2 separate regions of the Homo sapiens genome follow, and region 1 is linked to region 2. The links are contacts of gene promoters, found by promoter capture Hi-C in blood cells and fetal thymus (Javierre and others, 2016). All regions are on one chromosome and are shown on one strand. Each heading gives the region's core, a stretch centred on a gene start or on the middle of the fragment in contact. The rest is flanking DNA. Distances are from core to core; before and after follow the strand shown.

Region 1 (2,700 bases), core at 1-2,500, 260 kb after region 2:
CCTAATTGGCTCAGTGCCTGGCTAGCTCTCTCCCTTGGTTTCCTCATCCATAAAATGGAAAAGGCTTGTCCCACCTACCTCCTGAGCTGCCAGTGAAGATCAAATGGGATAATGTGTTTACTGGCATTTAGTGTAGTCTTGCTATTGATCTGTTGGGACATTTTCAGGCTGAGCCAGGGAGAAACTTAGGGTAGGGAAACACAGTGCTTATCTCCTTCTGACCTCTGCCCTCTCAGATCACTGGCGATACATCTACCCACTGGTGTGTGCTTTCTTTGTGGCCCTGCTGCCTGTCTGGGTGGTGCTGGCCCGACGAAGTCCAGCCACAAGGGAGGTGTTGTACTCGGGCTGGGAGCCTGTTATCATTGCCATGGCCATCAGCAGGTAGGCTGGGGCCCTGAGTATCCACTCCTACCCCACTCCAACCCTTCCACAGACTTCTTTTTAAACCCTGGAGAGATGGGGTGGGGGTCAGACCCTAGAAATGTGTTCATTAGTGTTTCAGTCACATGTCCTTCTGTTGAAAATGACAGAAACCATCTGAACTGGGTTTCATTCCAAGGCAGAATGTATTGGCCTGGAGAACCAAAAAGGCACAGCTGAATTCAGCGACATACCTAAGATCAGGGCCCCAGTACTCTGTGACTCTTAGCTCTGCTCTTCTCTGTCATGGCCTACAGCCCAGGTTTATGCTTTTCTTACTCCTACAAATTCCAGTGGGAAGAGAGATTCTTCCCCCAACAGTTCCACAAAGTCCCAGAATAGAGTTCCACTGCTTCTCATCTGGTGACATGATTATCTCCAAACCAGTCAGCGTGGCCTTGGGGCTGCAATCCTCTGATTGGATGGACCTGGAGCCTAGCTATCATTGAGGCATTGTCACCTGAGCCACAGTCACTGAGCTTGAGAGAGGTGGTTCCCTGTGGAGGAGCCCAGTGCTATCACCAGAAAGGGAAGTAAATGCTGAGTGGGCAGAACAACAGAGGTCCTCAGAGGCAGATAGTCCTGCAGGCTGCTCCTCCGGCCAACTTAGAGGGCAGGTACAGGAGGTGGTTGCCTGACCCAGTACCACCAGCTTGTTCTGGAGTCACTGTGCCCAGTCAGAATGTTATGAGCAGCACCTAATCCTGTCAAGGGAGGCAAGGACTGGATGGTGAGGAACTCCTGAGAGCCATGGTGCTTCCCTTCATCTCCAAGGATAGGTGGGCCTGGACCTCTCATCCCAGAGACTAAGGCAGAACCCTTCAGTGGTCTTTGCGTCATTTTGTCTTTATGTCTCTATAGTGTGGGAGGCCTCATCTTGGACAAGACTGTCTCAGACCCCAACTTTGCTGGGATGGCTGTCTTCACGCCTGTGATTAATGGTGAGGTCTGGGCATCAGCTATCAGAGGGCAGGGCTGGGGGAAGGAAAGGGACAGGAGAAGAGGACTTAAGGGGTTGGTTTCTGTATCAGTCAGGGTTCCAGCAGACGAGAATCTAGCTCAGATGGTTCAAGACCTTAATGAAGGGACTGCTTACAGAGGTGGGAGCAGAGTAAAAGGACAGATAAGGGATGTTGAGGCACCGAGAGATTAGCAGCAATGGGAAGCCTCTACTCCTAAAGGGTCAAGGGGAGTATCATAGTCCATTATCTGTTGCTAGAACAGAATACTTGAAACTGGCTAATTTATAACGAAAAGAAGTTTATTTAGCTCACAGTTCTGGAAGCTGGGAAGTTCAAGATTGAGCAGCTGCTTCTAGTGAGGGCCTCATGCTGCATCCAAACATCCAAATGGAGAAACAGAAGGAAAACTGGGCATGTGCAAAATGGGCAAAACAAGAGAGGCAAACCTCGCTTTATGACAACCCACTCTCATGGGAACTATACCTTTCCCAAGAAAGACATTAATCCATCTTAATAACCTATTCACTCTTAAAGGCACCACCTCCCACCACCACATTTGGGGACCAAGCCACAACATGAGTTTTGTTGGGGACAAACTATATTCAAACCATAGTAACGAGGGAATAGCATTATAGGAGTCCAGTGAAAGCTCTGTCTTTGCCCCCAACATGGGGAAGCCAATGCTGAAAAGCAGGGAGGGATTGGGAAAGAAATACCTGATCTCTCTCTCCACCTGCCCTCTGGTTGCCTGCTGTTGCCTCCCACTGAACAAACAGTGGAAGCAGCCAGCAAGGGAGACTGGGTAATGCAGTCTGTGGAGACCAGTCCCCCAGAGCTCAGAGCAAGGCTGAGAAGAGCAGGGAGCAGGTTGGGATGTGAGGGCAACAGAGAAATCAGCACAGGTCCTGGCGGAGATACCAGATTCCAGAGTTTGGAGCTCAAACCTGATCCTTGAAACTGGTTACCAGAATCAGCATATGACCATAGGATGCCTGGGTCTGCTCAGAGCATTGGAGAGGAGGTGAGGCGGTGAGGCAAGGCAGGGCTTCATCCCCTCAGCTGTGTAGGAAGGCAGGTGCCCATGCTCTACTGGTGGAGAAGTCAGGCTCTCTGAGTCTGCAGATCTGCACGTATCCTTTCCGGCACTGTCACAGCTTTGCCAGGGGAACATGGAACTGCTGCATCTCCATAGAGGGGAGGATGGGGGAGGCTGGAAGATGCACTGGAAGCAGGGGTCTTTGTCTTCCTTCTTAGTGCCTTACTCTTCTTTTGGGGACTGGTGAATGGGTGATGCCCACATAGACCCTAAATTAAG
Region 2 (6,364 bases), core at 2,270-4,769:
CTAGCTATTACCTTTCTTGTGTCACCTAGAAAAGGACCAGTCCTTAATTGTATTTTAAAAACTGTGATCATGGGAGGCTTAAAATGGGTCATAACACGCATCAAGTTGGTTATTTCCTGGGCTACATACCTTGGATAGAATAGCATTATACAAACAAGTTTCTTTTAGAGTCCTGGTACACTTATAATAACCATAAAATAATAGGAATGTAGCAATCTTTTGTCCTACCTCAGTGACTTGATGTATATACTGGAAACAGTTCTCAGTCTGAGGAAGGTCAGTTGAAGTCCTTACTGTGCAAGTCTAAATTTTAAGGAAAATTAGTCCCGCGATGAGTTTCCTCATGCTTCAGCTGTGCGTGGACCAGTCAGCTTCCGGGTGTGACTGGAGCAGGGCTTGTCGTCTTCTTCAGAGTCACTTTGCAGGGGTTGGTGAAGCTGCTCCCATCCATGTACAGCTCCCAGTCTACTGATGTTTAAGGATGGTCTCGGTGGTTAGGCCCACTAGAATAAACTGAGTCCAATACCTCTACACAGTTATGTTTAACTGGGCTCTCTGACACCGGGAGGAAGGTGGCGGGGTTTAGGTGTTGCAAACTTCAATGGTTATGCGGGGATGTTCACAGAGCAAGCTTTGGTATCTAGCTAGTCTAGCATTCATTAGCTAATGGTGTCCTTTGGTATTTATTAAAATCACCACAGCATAGGGGGACTTTATGTTTAGGTTTTGTCTAAGAGTTAGCTTATCTGCTTCTTGTGCTAACAGGGCTATTGCTACCAGGGACTTTGGACATGGGGGCCAGCGTTTGGAAACCTCATCTAGTTGTTTTGAGAGATAGGCCACTGGCCTTGGCCAGGGCCCTACAGTCTGGGTTAAAACTCCAACTGCCACTTTTTCTCTTTCTGACACATAGAGTGTAAAAGGTTTTGTCAGGTCAGGTAGCCCCAGGGCTGGGGCCGACATGGGTTTTTTCTTTTTTTCAACTCATGAAAAGCTCATTGCTGTTGGGTGTAATAGATGCAGTTTATCTAATCTACATTTTTATTGACTGTCATCTACCAAAATATTGACTTAAATCCTGTAGCTATTTGATTTCGGACTTTAAATTGATCTGGTGTTCCTTGCGGGGCTTCGATTGCATCTAAATAGATGTGAGAGTTGAAAGACCCATAAGGGGCTTCTCTCGCTTTACGATGTCTTATTATTTTTTTTTTCCTTCCTCTGGTTGATGAAATGCCAGGGTGAAAGGGATAGCCAAATAGGCTAAAGCACAAGTGCCACTCTAGTTATTCGGCAGAGTGCCCAATAAAGGTCCACGACAATACCATCACACATCCGCTCGGGGATGAACAAGGGCTGACTGACTGATAAGCTCTTGAAAATTCTTAAGCTCACTGCATCCCTTCAGGTCTCCAAGGAATGCTAAGTCTCCTCCCTGCCATGAGAGACATGAAGTGAACTTAGTGTTGGGAGACGGAAGCTGGACGGCCCTCAGGGGCTGACCCGCAGGGACTTTGGGATATAGCAGAGAGAGCTTGGCATGACTTATTACTCCAAGCTGTAGAAACCTGGAAAATAGCTACCCTGCAGCCCATGCCTGGTCAACTGGAGGACCACCTTAGTGGAAGGGGGACAATCAGGGCCTCTGGCCTGCCATGTGCACAAGCATAACAATTGCATTTGTTTAAAGTGCAGATGGAATATTTGATCCATTTCAGCCAGGCACTTGCATCTTGGCGTGCTGTCTTAATTGCCAAAGTTTGTTTTAAGTCTTTAACTTTTATGATCCTCTAGTAAAATGAATGTTTCCTTTAGCACCAATTTTTATTAGTTTTTAGACCAAAGAAAGCTAAACACCATTTTATATTTAATAATGTTTCTTGTATGATTTTTATACCAGATAAGCTAAATTTTACCTTTATATTAGTGTGTTATTAATTTTAAACTGAATTTTAATAAAACCTTGTAGACATATTTATCCAATTTTTCATGTTTGACCATAAGGTAAGATTTTATAGACTCTTTTTAACCTTTTATAATTTTTGTTAAAGAGCAGGTTGATGCTTTAAGAAAAACCTGTGGCATTTTTTACTTTAATGTCCAGTTCACAGAAAAACTGGATGATACCTTTTTAACTTTAGCTAATATGTTTACACACAGAATTTTCTTTATAATTAACGTTTTAAAACTTGCTTAAACTTTTAAAACAATAATTGTTTTTAACCTTTTAATGTAGGTAAAAATCCACATTCTTATGCCCCTTTATAATCTTTTTACCAAAGGTATGTTTTACTTTTCTTATACACCTTGCACATAAACTGTTTTTTTAATAGTACTCAGGAGGCCTTATTACTTTTAAATTATACAACATTTTTTGCATAAATTTTTTTATAACATTTTTTCTTTCACGACTTTTGCCGACAATTCTTCAATGTGTCTCAACTTTCTGACTTATTACAAACATTTTTTTTCTTTAAACACCAGTTAGTTTATTTCAGGACAAGAATTTACCATATAACACTCTTTTTACATAAATTCTGTCTCCCCCCACTTTTTTTTTTTTTTGAAGATAACCATTCCTTTTTTTTTTTTTTAAAGCAAACTTTCTTTATGCCTTTGGACTAGACTGTCTAAGGCCACAAGATTAGAAGTTACCATAATACATGTTACACTGTTAACTTTAAGCAAACTTCACTTTTGTTGAAAACCTTGTAAGTTTGGGATTTCAATTATCCTTTGCTATTAAGACCTTGTTTAGTCTAAATTAACTTAGAATTGGTATAGATGGCCTTTTTTTCTCTCTACTGGTCTTTCCTTGCCTCTGCCAGCCGCTTATGCTGCTGTTCTCTTAACTACGTTGGCGGGGCAAGGGGGTATAAAAGCAGCTGTAACTTTCTATGTATGGAAACTGGTCTGGGTGCCTTGGCTTACGGGTTACCTTGTGTCATACCTTTGAAACAAGGGACCTGTCCAGGCTTCCTTCTGATGGCCAACCCACCTCTAATGCTGGCCAGTCTATTTCACACAAAGTTCTAAGTTTTCCTGGTGTCACAGTAACACTGTAATCTCCCTTAAATTCTTTCTTGAATTTTTTTTTAACATAGTTCCTAGTGGGGTGGGCTTATTTGTACCTGACCCATGCTTCTTCGAGACAAAACACCACACCCACACCACACACATGCCACAAACAAAAAAACAGGTAAAAAGGGCATACACACTCTTGCAGTTTACACCAAACCAAAATCAAAACCAAAATCAGAGTATCCAGAAATCCAAGCCAGGTCAAAACCAAAACCAAAACCAAAGTATCACACAATCTAAGTCAAGTCAAAACCAGAACAGAAGTGCCAATGCAGGCATGTCGTGGGTGATCAGGCCACACTTCCACCTAGATGGAGTGGGGCAAGTTCCAAAGACTAGTCTTACCAAGTTTCAGATGTCCGGACTCCAAGTGCCAGTTCCTTCCCGGTGTTCAGCCACTGTGTTAATCCTCCACAGGGAACTGCTACACGCTGCTCTGGTGAGGCATTCCACCGGGGCAATTTCCTACCCGGGAGTGCTCTTTGGATCGCGTCACTCGGGCTGGCCGGAGTCCGCCTCAGGGATGCTCCACAGGGGAGGCCTAAGCCGCCTAAGGGGCTGCCTCGGCTGTCCATCAGTTACCTCGTTTCCTGGTCAGGGAACCAAGAAATGTAGCAGGACGAGCCGCAGACAAAACCCCTCAGACACCAAATTGTAGAAGGAAGGGCTTTATTCAGCTGGGAGCATCAGCAGGCTACTGCCTTAAAATCCGAGCTCCCCGAATGCACAATTTCCGTCCCTTTTAAGGGCTCACAATACTAAAGATTTCACATGAAAGGGTCATGATTGATTTGAGCAAGCAGGCGGTATGTGACAGGGGCTGCATGCACCGGTGGTCAGAGAGAAACAGAACAGGGCAGGGAGTTTCACAATGTTCTTCTATACAATGTCTGGAATCTATGAATAACATCAGTTTCTAAGTTATGAGTTGATTTTTAACTACTGGGTTTAGGCCAGGCAGGCCCAGGCCTGGTTTCGGGCCTGGCGCCGGACTGCCTGTCTTTGGTTTTACTTCCTTGTTGTTTTTCCTTAAAACAGGTACTGAGTATAAAACAATATAAAACAATATGAGAGGGTCTCTCTCTTCCCTCACAGTGACCTGGGTCTCAGACACTTCCTAACTGTGATCTTAGGACAAACACTTAGCTTTTCTGAGCCTCATCTGTGAAACAGACAGAATATGAATGCCTACCTCATGGAGTTGTTTAAGAACTCAGTGATCAGACTATTATTCAACAGTAATAACGAGCCAGGCCCAGTGGCTCACGCCTATAATCTCAGCACTTTGGGAAGTCAAGGCAGGAGGACCGCCTGAGCTCAAGAGTTTGAGACCAGCCTGGGCAATATAGCTAGACCTTGTCTCTACTTTAAAAAAAAAAAATCCGAAAATTAGCTGGGTGTGCTACTGCATGCCTGTAGTCCCAGCTCCTTGAGAGGCTGAGATAGGAGAATCACTTAAGCTAGGGAAGTCGAGGCTGCAGTGAGCCATGATCACACCATTGTACTCTAGCCTGGGTGACAGAGCAAGACCCTGTCACAAAAACAAACAAAGAAACAGAAGACAGGAATAACCACCATTTGTATTGTTCTAGTTTTCAGTTGGTCTTACCTGAGCAGAGTAATTGGGTGAGATTGTTCATGGAGGCATTGCTGGCTCTCTAGTCCTGGAACCTACAGTTGGTCCAATTCATTATGCCAAAGGGTCCGTCTAGGAGGTTCTTGTTCCAAGTATTGAGATTCCCGAGAGAAGTAGGTCCCCTTAGATAGAAGCAGAGTTTCTCAGAGGTATTTAGCAGCAGCTGGTGGACACAGGACTCAGGGAGCTGGCCCCCCTCTTCCCTTCCATGTCTTTCATTCCTGCATGGGAACCTGTCAGATGGGGAGATTGTTAAAATCTCACCACTGGAGGGGAGGGCCTCAAAGGCCATGGAGACAGCACCTCTCTCTTAGTGAAGGCATCTTCAGATAGAATTCAGCACAAATTCAAAGGTGGCTCCCCAGACCCTATCTGTCACATCGCCCTCTCATCTATTAGTATCTGAAGTCACCTTGATCATTTATTTGTTTACTTGATTATTGTCAGCCTCTCATCACATGAATGTGAGCTTCATAAGAACAGAGACCTTATCTGTTTTGGCCAACATTTCACCCCCAGTGTCTAGAAAGTGCCTCATGCAATGAATAGGTCCAATACATATTTCTTCAATAAATGAATGAATGAATGAATGCCAAAGACTCCTTCATAAAAGCCAGGGTCAACTGACCTCTGCCAGAATTTTGGAGAGCCTACACCACAGACTTTTGAACCTCTTAGCTGATGACAAATCTTTAGCCTTCGAAGCGGAAATTGATTTGAAAGAGCCCAAAGTACTCCGGTAAAGTAGGTGATGTTGAACTGGGTAATGTCAATTTCAGAAAAAGAGGACACGTGCCTGTGAAACACCAAGAGCAGTGTCCTGGGGTTGGGGAGGACACCTGCCTGGGTGTGGGTGGCCAAGGGGAAGAAGGAAGAGAAAGAGCAGGGGAAGATGCTGTCCCACAGCCACCACCACAGGTGTTCACCGGCCTCAGGCGCCAGCCCTGCTCAGGGTGAGAGGCGAAGAGGGAGGTGTGCTTAAGGCCAAATGAAAGAGGATCTGCCACCCTCTCCTCCCCCAACTCTTACCACATTCTAGCAAAGAGAGCTGCAGGAGCAGTCAGGAAATCCCCTAACAAGGCAAGCATTGGAACCAAGAGCCCAGGTGGCACGGATGAGTCACTTCACTTACTTGGACTCAGTTCCCCTATTTGTGAAATGAAGCAAGGATGAGAAGAGGAACAAGACGTGATCAAGAAAAAGGCAAATGTTTTCACAAGTGCCTGTCATTGCCCCCTTCTGTTGTCCCCTTCCACATGTCACCTGGTACATTGTACATTTCTTCTAACAATTGTGTTATTGGCCAGGAAATACAGAGAATTCTTTTAGAGAATAGGTTTTCTAAGTGTTAAAATTGTTTTTATTTTTAATTTTGTAAGGGGAGGACATCATCACCTTTTCAGTTTGGGACTTTTGAAGTGTTTGTTTCATTAGGTCACATTCAGATGGTTTTAGAATTCAAAAGGTACAAAAGGATAGTCCTGGAAAAGCTGCTCATCTGCTCTTGACCCCAGCCATCTAGTTCTCCTCCCTGGAGGAAACCAGCATGCCCAGTTTATTGTGTACGTTATGTGTACATGAGCAAACACACAGACACACAGAAACACACTCACCATACAGGCGTCTTCCTTACACATGACAGTGTAC

Evidence for each region. The method cuts DNA at HindIII sites, captures the fragments that hold promoters and counts their contacts. A CHiCAGO score of 5 or more calls a contact.
Region 1: a fragment that was not itself captured here is called in contact with the fragment with the promoter of RHEX in region 2 in 1 of 17 cell types (erythroblasts); the score reaches 5.2 in erythroblasts.

Annotation. Positions count from the first base shown.
Region 1 is chr1:205,795,588-205,798,287 of GRCh38, reverse strand. It overlaps SLC41A1 (solute carrier family 41 member 1), which reads left to right. Exons shown (of 11, transcript NM_173854.6): 7 at 237-384; 8 at 1,285-1,364. Among named protein-coding and RNA genes, the nearest start is that of SLC41A1, 16 kb to the left of the region's middle. The HindIII fragment of the contact is 5,369 bases long and covers 1-2,700 here.
Region 2 is chr1:206,050,328-206,056,691 of GRCh38, reverse strand. RHEX (regulator of hemoglobinization and erythroid cell expansion) reads right to left here and starts at 3,519. Exons shown (of 6, transcript NM_001007544.4): 1 at 3,427-3,519. LOC105372857 (a long non-coding RNA gene) reads left to right here. Exons shown (of 3, transcript XR_922473.3): 3 at 1-3,249. RefSeq lists enhancers at 3,404-3,463, 3,884-4,123, 5,487-5,986. The HindIII fragment of the contact is 7,500 bases long and covers 630-6,364 here.